3 separate regions of the Homo sapiens genome follow, and all the other regions are linked to region 1. The links are contacts of gene promoters, found by promoter capture Hi-C in blood cells and fetal thymus (Javierre and others, 2016). All regions are on one chromosome and are shown on one strand. Each heading gives the region's core, a stretch centred on a gene start or on the middle of the fragment in contact. The rest is flanking DNA. Distances are from core to core; before and after follow the strand shown. Region 1 holds the start of ADCY10 (adenylate cyclase 10). Region 2 overlaps DCAF6 (DDB1 and CUL4 associated factor 6). Region 3 overlaps ADCY10 (adenylate cyclase 10).

Region 1 (3,360 bases), core at 324-2,823:
CTCCTCCAGCGTCTGTAATATATACCTAGCTGACGTCCACCCCACTGGGGGTTCCCTCTCTCGGCTTTGGAGCCCCCCTCCCTCTGTCTCTGTATGGGGGAGCTTCTTCCCTCTTTCCTCTTCCTTCTTGCCTATTAAACTCTCCGATCCTTAAAATCACTCCACATGTGTCTGTGTCGTTTTATCTAAACCGGGATGAGGACTAAGAACCTTGGTGTTCCTCCACTCATCGGAGCCGTATCAATTCTACATAGGTTGCCTCATTTAATCATCCAAACAGCGCTATGAAGTAGACCTGATTTCTATAGATATGAAAACTGAAGCACAGAGGTATTAACTTGCTCTGGGTTATAAAGCTGGAATATCCAGGTCTGTGGGACTTGAAAGTCCCTGTTGTTTCTACTATATCATGCTATATCCCATTTGTATACGCTTTATAGCACTTTGGGGATGTATATGACCTAGACAAAAGATGTAGGTTTAATTTAAGAGCACTTTCAATGCATGTTGATGGTACCCTTATCAACTGTTCAGCCAATTCTATCACATCAAGAATACAGCATGAACAGCATGGGTACTGACAAAGCGCGGAAGCACCTTGGAATGAGAAATGAGGATACCTGAGTCAAAAGGCAAGCAGGCGAATGAGGCCCGAAAGATAAACCAAGAAGGATTCCTGAATGCGGAGTGTGAGTAAAGAAAACTCAGTAGTACCCAAAAATGAAAAGAGAAATTAGGGTTCGATTATATTCATCAGTTTCTCTAAATCTCTCCTCTAGAATTTCCTAATAGATTTTATATTCAACTTTTCACCTACATGTAAAGTCAGGTTTCACGAGTCCAAAGAGGGAGATACTCTGAACTTAAAGGCACAGTGTTACCTGTCATGAAAGCTTGCTTGCCTACTCTAGCCATGGTAATTTTTCTTCTGAGCTATTGTGGCTCTTAATGTCTACACTTAAGTGGCTTATTTCCCATACAAATATCCTTGATTATCTTTTGAATTGCTTCTATTTTGTCTTCATCTGAATTGTAAGCTCCCCGTTTGGAACCATCTTCTACATATCTTTGTTTACTCCACAGCACCTTGCCAGAGCCCCCTTCAAGAGGTAGGCACTTGGTAGTTGTTGACTGATAAAAAGGAGGATATCACGTGAGAAACTGCAGAAAAGAGGCAAATAAAGAAAGTAAGCTAGAAAGACAGAGCATCCAGGTTGAGAAGGTGAGGCAATATTTAAGCCTTCAAGCTTCTAAGCTCATGTAAGGGACTGACACAGAGGTATACACAAACTTGAACCCTGACTTCTAGCCCCAGGCTTCCCACTCCTCTGCAATAGCTGTCTTCTTTCCTGACGGTCGCCCTCATCTTCAGCTCTGCAATCAATCTTTCTGCTGAGACTCTTACTTCCACATACCTCCACTTCATCCAGGGCTGAGGAAAAGCCAGACCTCAGTTAGGGACTAGGTCTTTTAAGACTGCAGAAGACAGGAGAGGAGGCCGGGTGACATTATTCTGAAGACAGCTGAAGCGCCATGTCTGTCTATAGCTGACCCATAAAATGACAGTTTTGTCTAAAAGCCGTTTTCCAGGCCACACCCTCATCAGTAGCTCATTGTTCCACGGGCACCGACCATGTTTCTGATTGGGTGGCACTGCCGTCCCCTCCCCCACCAACCTGAGTGGCCTACTACTGTACAAGGAAGGACTGGCTGTTTCAGGTTCTCTTATCCGCACATTTGAGGCAAGGGTCAGGGGAGACTGACATGACCCCAGAGTAGTTTACACAATTCTTCCCTTGGCCATGTGGAGGATGGTTGAAATTAGGCAATAGTTGGTAGGTGATCATCAGAAGTATCTCCAGAGCAAGCAAACACCTAATTTTAGTCAATAGTGGTTACAGCTTGTACCAGGACTATGAAATTTACCAGTTATAATAAATTCAATACTTACCTTCAGATATATTTGTGAGGTAAATTTTTGTTTGAAGAATTATATACCTGCCCTTTCTGACTGGTCAAGTGCACGCTTTTAATCAAATTTATCCCAAAGATAACTTGAAATCCAATGGGCACTGGATTTGAGTTTTCTTTATCTGATGTGACACTGGAAAAATGTATTTTAAGAGGCTGGTGTGTTTTCTAACAGCTTAAATCATGTGTTGATTTTCTAAATGTTCTTATGTATATCATCACAACCACAATTATCATTTAGGGGCACAGCTTTTAAAATTGGAATTTAAAAAGTCTTATTTAAAAAGCTGTACATGTTCTCCTATAAAGCCCCGCTCTGTAATTGTTTACTGTGTACTTCCAAATGTTGTAAAACACAGTTGTCTTAGGGAGGAAAACAAGAGGGTCATTTAATTATGTTCATTGAGTGAATTTTCTGGTGTGAGTTGTGGAAACCAGTCTTATAATTAGAATCATACCTCATTTAATTAAACAATCCCCTTAGGGAGAGCTATTCTTAATAAATGCCAGTGTTTTCTATTTCTGCTTCATTATATAAACAGGCTCCAGTAGAGACCTTTGTTTTACAGAAAGGAACCTTAGCTTTGAGGTCCATCCTCATTAACATTCAACCTTTCGCTATGATTTTATAAGTTAAAAAAGAAAATATTTACTATGAGGAAACAGCAGCACTGACATACCTTGGATCAAAGTTTCCTTAAAAGAGATGCCATACCACAAAAAAAGACTAAAGAATTTATCTCTTATTGAGCATTCTCCACCCCACCTACTACTCCTCTACCCCAAGCAGCTTCTTTTCTGCTATAAAGTTATTAGTTCAGAAACCGTGCAAATAGGTTAACACAGTATATCCTTTTTGTAGTAAAATTAAAACTTCCTTTAAAGTACTTAAAGAAAAGTACTTTCTGGGTCTACCTTCAATTAATAAGATTACCATTTTCTGAACTTTCTTCTTGTTGCCCAGGCTGGAGTGCAATGGCGTGATCTCAGCTCACTGCAACCTCCACCTCCCTGGTTCAAGTGATTCTCCTGTCTCAGCCTCCCAAGTAGCTCGGATTACAGGCATGTGCCACCATACCCAGCTAATTTTTTTGTATTTAGTAGAGATGCGGTTTCACCATGTTAGTCAGTCTTGTCGCGAACTCCTGACCTCAGGTGATCCACCTGCCTCGGCCTCTCAAAGTGCTGGGATTTCAGGCATGCACCACCGCGCCTGGCCCGTTTCCTGAACTTTCCATATCTTCAATATTTACTGTGGACCAGGCACTGTGTTAAAACCTTATCTCAATCTTTAGAACAATCCTATGAAGTCAGTACTATGATTATCCTCATTTTGCTCTTGAAAATATTAAAGGTCAGAGACAGAGGTTAACAAAGTCTCACAGTTAA
Region 2 (3,360 bases), core at 488-2,987, 82 kb after region 1:
ATTGATTTTTATTTTCAGTGACCTTTTGGTATTGGCTCAATGCCTATTAATACGTTTTAAAGGTTACTAATAACAGTGATTTTGGAATTCCTACGAGATACAAAACTATATTCATTCCTCATAATTTCAGGTGTAGAGGGCTGTAAAATTAGAAATCAGGATTACTTTATAAATATACTTTGAGATTTTTATCCTTGCAGTGTATTTATTTGAATTAGGAAATTGATGAAGAAGGGTATGATGGCTAATAAAATGATTTTTGAGTTTATTCTGGTTAAAAACATGAAATCTGCTCTGTCATTTTGTTACTGCTATGCAAATTTCCCCTTGAAATACATGGGTAAGTAAAGTTATAGTCAAACTGTGATTGTTACATAATGAAAGAGTTGGAAGTCCATAGACATTTTAAGTGGGCCAACTAGTTTTGATACCATGGAATACTTAGCCAAAAGATATTTATATAATCAGAGTGAATGAGGCTGAGTCATGAACATTTTTTTTTCTGGGAGACTTTTCCTTGGTCTTGTTTGTTGCATTAACTAAATTAAGAAAAACAATGCTGAAAGTGGATTTAAATTATGCTTGTTGGCCGGGCGTAGTGGCTTACGCCTGTAATCCTAGCACTTTGGGAGGTCGAGGCGAGTGGATCACCTGAGGTCAGGAGTTCAAGACCAACCTGGCCAACATGGTGAAACCCTTTCTCTACTGAAAATACAAAAATTAGCTGGGCTTGGTGGCAGGCGCCTGTAATCCCAGCTACTTGGGAGGTTGAGGCAGGAGAATTGCTTGAACCCAAGAGAAGGAGGTTGCATGAGCCGAGATCACGCCATTGCACTCCAGCCTGGGTGACAAGAGCAAAACTCAGTCTCAGAAAAAAAAAAAAAAAGCTTATTATAACAAACCAAACAATTCAGAGGTATACATAGAATAAATTAATAATCTGTCTTATTTGTAATTCTGACACATTTTGGTGTTTTATACTGAAACTTTGATGATAGTATTCAGACAAACTTAACTCACCAAATATTTATTGGGTGCCTACTATACACCAAGTCCTCTACTTAACTTTGGAAAATGAAGGATGACCAGACAAAGACATGATCTCTTACTTAAGGAATTCACAGCTTAGTGGAAGTAGAGGTACAAGTAAATAAATATGTAAAACTTAATATAGAATTATGTATAAGGACTATGTTCTGTATAAGTAGAACAAAGTAGGGAATAATTAATCTTGAGTAAAGCCTGAGGAAGGTTTTAAAGCATGAGTAAAAGTTTGTTGTATGATTTTGTCTTATGTTTCCATAATATTTTTGTATTTTCTCAATTTGTGGAGGCCTTTCTATTTCCTTACCGCCTCTAATAATTTCTTTCATTTTTTTCCCCCTTCTTTCTTTGGTTCATTCTTTTGTCTTAATTTTTTTTGTACTTTCTGTTTTCCCTTATTTTTCTATCCTTTTTTCTTTTTATCATCTCTCTTTTCTTCTTTTTGACAGTTTACCACCTGCCCTACCCCATTATTGGGCTTCTTTGTTGAATTCATTCTTTCATTTTCTTCTGGTCCCCATAGCTTGTGCCTAAAAATATACTCCAGATCTGACTACTGCTTACCACCACCCTTGCTGCATTACCACCCTGATCCGAGCTATCAGCATCTCTGGCATGACCTATCCCCCTTTGTAGTTGATTTTGCTAGCTTTCTAACCAGTCTTCCTGCTTTCACTTCCTACAGCCCTATAGCTATACAGCATTCAAAGTGATCCTTAGAAACATAAGTTAAATCATGCCGCTCTTCTCATCAACATTCTAAGTGGCTCCCTGTCGGACCTAAAGCAAAACTGAAGTCCTTATGGTGGCTTCAAGATCTTATATTATCTGGTCCTAATTATTACTTCTACTGTTTTCTTCTTTACTGTGCTCTAACCACATCTACTTGCTTAGTAACTCAGGCCAAGCATGACTCTATTTTAGGATTTTGCATTTACTCTGCCTGAAATGCTCTTCCCTGGATACCTGGATTTTTTCTTCCCTGTGTATTTCAGGTCTTTGCTTATGTAACCTTCTTGGTGAAGCCCTACTTCACCATCCTATTTAAAATCACGGCCTTTAACTGATACTACCTATCCCCTTTTCTACTTTATTTCTCTCCATAACAGTAACTTTCTATGTATATTTTGCTTTTTCATTTCATGTGTTGTTTGCTCCATCGGGCTGTAAATTCTGTGACATTGGGGATTTTTTGTGTGTTTTGTCCATTGTTGTTTTCCAATACCTGTAATAGTACCTGACATATAAAAGGTGCTCAAAAAATATTTGGTGAATGAAACGCCATTTTCAGTATTCTTGCCTAGGTTATTTCACATACTCAGAAAGTCAAATTTGAGATTGTTTTTAATTTGAAGATTTTATTCTATAAATAATTGCTGAGGTTGTAAAACCAGTTCTTTGGCTATGTAATATAAAAATTCCTCTCTGTTGAAACCATGAAGCAAGATTCTATTATATTGTTTTAAGAATAGTTCGTATGAAGGATGAAGCCCTCTCCTTTTGGGAGTGATTAGTTGTTTGAGAATTTGCACAGCTGCCACATTAAGCTTTGTTCTGGTTATTCCCTGTCACACACTTACGTCTTCCTGTGTAGATTTTACTATTCTCAGTTGCCTTTAGCCATACTTACACATAATATGGAATTTATGGGGATTTTTTTTTCTGTCTCCTTTGCTCAGGATGCAAAGATTTTTTTCTATTCATGTTACTAGGTATGGTTTCCAGAAGAAATCAGAAAATTCACTGTTAAGTGTCACCAAGTTTTTATCAAAACCTGTTTAATTTTCAGGAAAAAAAAATCAATGAATGCTGTTTTTAAAAAATAAATAAAAATAAAAAGAGTGACCCACAGGATGGGAGAAAATGTTTTGCAGATCATGTGTCTGGTTACAGTTTAGTATCCAGAATGTATAAGGAACACTTACAGTGCAACAATAAAAAGACAAATATCCAAACTTAAAAATAGGTAAAGGATTTGAATATATAATACTTTTTTTTCCCCAGAGAAGACATATAATAGAAATGGCAATAAGTACATAAGGAGATACTCAACGTTATTAGTCCTCAGGGAAATGCAGATCACAACCACAGTGAGATATCACTTCATACCCACTAGGATGACTAAAATAAAAAAGACAGACAATAACAAGTTTTGACAAACATGTAGAGAAATTGGAACCCTCAAAAAATTAGAGTTATTATATGAGCCATACTTCTCCTCCCAGATATACAGGCTTCTCTTGGAGATATTGCAGGTTTGGTTCTAGACCATTGCAATAAAGTAAATATTGCATTAAAGCAAGTCACACAGATCTT
Region 3 (3,360 bases), core at 254-2,753, 70 kb before region 1:
TGTCTAGGATAGATTAAAGCAGGATATTTTAAGGAAGACACTGCAAAAAAAAAAACGTTTCCTAGTAACCCTAGGGAAAATAAACATTTGTTAAGAAATCTATTCACAGTATATTACTTGGTTTGTAATGGACAACATTTACATAGTCTTAATAATGTAAACACTTCATTGGCTTATCTAATGCCAGTTATATGACAATATAGGGGAGAGGGGCCGAGGAGTGGTGTAACAGAGTTAAATCCTCATCTGCCATAGCCAGAAAACAGATGTCAGAATTTGATTTTCTTAAAAATCAGTAAAAGCAATGTTAATATACCATTTAGTATATGGAGGTAATGACTAGAAAGAACAGCTAAATTAAAAATGTTTGCCCCTGACTGGAATTACTGAAGGTGTGTGGGACGGTCGGCCATGGGATTACTGTTTTGTGATACGACATTTAGGGAATTTACAAAGTCTCTAAAGTTTGTCGAGTCGATAGCCTTCTGAACAGGTGAAAAATTCTGATAAGAGAAATAGTAGAGCTGTGGCCTCACTCAGGTGGAGGTGCTGATGGAAGGGATACCAGCAGACATTATTCAGAGACATTTGGTCATATATGTTCCAGAGCTGAACTGCCAGTTGATTGGAAAATCTGCAAATAACTGAAATTGTTTGCTTTGATGACACTAGTCAACCTGCTCAAGGCCAGCTGCTCAAACTGACCTATATTCTAGCTGTCAGTGTATTTTAGCTTATTTTATCCCCCAAAATAAAACATCAATCTACCAAAAAATGCATCTATGTATATGTATGTGTGTGTACATGTGTATGTGTGTGTGTATATGTATGACTCACTGACCCCGCACAGTCAAATATTCTTCTTTCCCCTTTCCCTCATCTCTTTCCATCATTTCATCTCCTACTGATACTTTCATTGGTTCTTTGAATAGGGCCCTGTGTGGGATCCTTCACTAAAGCTTCCTTAATTCAGGCAGCGCATCTTCTCGGTGCTCCAGTCTGTCCCCCTTATCCCTGTCTCATTCTAGCAGTCCACACCCAAGGGTCTTGTTACCCTCCCAAGGGCACCCTGGGAAGAACTTAAAATGGTTCCAGACTGGCTGTTTCTCCCAGGTGGGTTTTATCTGATCCATGAGAAACCCTCACACATCCTTTCCCACAGTCTGGGATGGCAGCTTGATCCCAATGCAGCCACAGGCCACTTCAGCCTTCTTAGGCATGAGGCAGGCCCCAGTGTTCTATGTCCTCTGATTCTAAGGAAGACACCTCACCAGGCTTGAGGTGATGAAGTAAACAACCCACTTGAGGAGGGCACACAGCACCTCATCAGTTCTCACCAAAGAGATCTCTTCACAAATCCTGACCCTCTACATCCTCTTCCTCATTTCTATGTCTTAGGTCTGGGCGAAGGATCCAAGATTATAATTGATTCTCAGCTATTTCTTTTGTAATTCTGTATATCCACTGCCTCAGTTTGAATTGCAGCATTAGTTGTATCTTGGTGCTCTGGCACAAATTTCAATTTCAACATAATATTACACACATACCACTTTTGTGATAATAATATTACCAATTTTGTAAAAATATAACAAACAAGAGAGAATTTAATAAATGCTAGTAATAGAACTAGACTCAGGTAGGTGTACATTCCCCTGACATCTTCCCTGCCCAGTGCAGATGAGACTATTGCTGAAGTCTTATCCTCTTTGTACTCAAGCTCTCAGAGGACTAAAAATCTTCATGGTCCAGATCCTAAGGCTCTGAACCTACAGCCTGATTCCTGTTTTCCAAAAAGGGAGATGGACTAGTGTTAGTGCAGTTTCAACAACATGCTCGTCCCACTGTGCAAAGCTGCAACTTTCTCATTCTCTTGATTTCTACTTCATGCTGTGTCTACGAACTTCCTATCTTCTGGCAAGTATTACCTAAAATCCAACCCCACATTTGGGGGAGCTCAGGTATAATGAGCAGAGGATGAACTTAGGAATTAGACTGATGGCAGATTGAATAAAGCCTGTCACTCATTCTGTGGTATTGGGTAAGTTACTTAAGCTTCCAGAACCACAATTTAAAAAATCTATACAATGAAAACAACCCTCATCAACCTTAAAGGGTTAATATGAGGATCCACTGAGAAGGCACATGAAATGGAGAACGAATGAGAAAAAAAAGTTTATTTTGCACCTGCTATGTACTAGGCAGTTTAGATACATTTCTTCCTGATTTTTAATATCCTTATAATATAGGAGTCCTCTACTTGTAGCCTCTGATTTCCCAACCAGATTTAGCCATAATCACCAAGGTCCTCTGACTAGAGTAGGCAGCCCATTAGGAGCTCCCTGGCCACCATGAATGGGGGCTAGAATTGGTGGTGTTGCTCTGTGTCTGACACCCATCATGCCCATAGTGACTGAGTCTTTGGGTCCTTACACCCCCTGAATCCTCTGCTATGTTTTCTCAGATCACATGGCTGGTTGGTATTATTGGCTTGTAACTTTTTAACTTTTGCTTCTCCGATGGTCTTGAATTCTTGCCCTGAAACCAAGCCCTGTTTTCTGGAGCCCTGACCTGCTTAGCCCTGGCTAATTCTCTCTCAGTCATGTTCTTTACCCACTGGAACCTGTTTCAAACTAGACCAACAAAGCAATAATATTCTTATCTGCCAAGAAACACCATGTCATCATGTCAGATTGTACCCCCCTTTGGATTCCATCCTTTGGTGTGAATTAAGTGGGATATTTTAGTTTGAGTTCTGGTCACATCCCATTTTGCCAGAGCCCCTATCCCCAAACCCTCCCTGACAGTTATAGTGAGATTGGTTCGCTAGACTCAATACAGGTACATTCCCTTACTTTTCTCTTCCCCATTGGCCTAGGCTGCTGAAGTCTCATCATTCTTTGTGCCCAAGCCGCTTATGAGACTTGAAGCCCTCAAGATCCACACCCACTCCTTCTAGATCTTAGTCTCTAGATTTCCCAAGAACAGTTAGGATAATTTTAAAATGAAGTAGGTTACTTTTAAATCCATGAGACATAGCCATCTTTTTAATGGCATCCATGTCTAAAGCGTTGAGCCGAATATTCACTGTGAAGTGATGATAGGGAATGAAGTCCCTGCCTCGGCAGTGGTCACATCTGTGGGCATCTTCTTCTAAAAAGCGGGCACATTTCAAGTGCATGGCTTTTCTCTGGTCCTTGAGCCACAGCTCGTAGGCTGTTTTCTGCATCATAGGGTTACAGAATCGAATCCTGTGGCACTCGATCACCTCATTCTCCAGTTCACGAAGCTGTTCCTCTTCACCGTGATCTGGAGAGAGCAAAAAGGGTTTTTCAGCCAGGCAGTGGGCAACAGATCAGCCCC

The links. Contacts are between HindIII fragments. The CHiCAGO score rates a contact against its expected background, and 5 or more counts as called.
Region 2: a contact is called between a fragment that was not itself captured here and the fragment with the promoter of ADCY10 in region 1, in 1 of 17 cell types (erythroblasts). The highest score is 5.3, in erythroblasts.
Region 3: a contact is called between a fragment that was not itself captured here and the fragment with the promoter of ADCY10 in region 1, in 1 of 17 cell types (erythroblasts). The highest score is 5.8, in erythroblasts.

The regions. Positions count from the first base shown.
Region 1 is chr1:167,912,561-167,915,920 of GRCh38, forward strand. ADCY10 (adenylate cyclase 10) reads right to left here and starts at 1,574. Exons shown (of 33, transcript NM_018417.6): 1 at 1,416-1,574. It also overlaps a transcript of DCAF6 not described here. RefSeq lists enhancers at 602-1,278, 1,279-1,955. The HindIII fragment of the contact is 13,833 bases long and covers 1,246-3,360 here.
Region 2 is chr1:167,994,811-167,998,170 of GRCh38, forward strand. The region is part of intron 7 of DCAF6 (DDB1 and CUL4 associated factor 6); the gene reads left to right. Among named protein-coding and RNA genes, the nearest start is that of MIR1255B2, 2.2 kb to the right of the region's middle. RefSeq lists an enhancer at 1,590-1,649. The HindIII fragment of the contact is 1,704 bases long and covers 886-2,589 here.
Region 3 is chr1:167,842,548-167,845,907 of GRCh38, forward strand. ADCY10 (adenylate cyclase 10) reads right to left here. Exons shown (of 33, transcript NM_018417.6): 21 at 3,016-3,306. Among named protein-coding and RNA genes, the nearest start is that of ADCY10, 70 kb to the right of the region's middle. The HindIII fragment of the contact is 1,093 bases long and covers 958-2,050 here.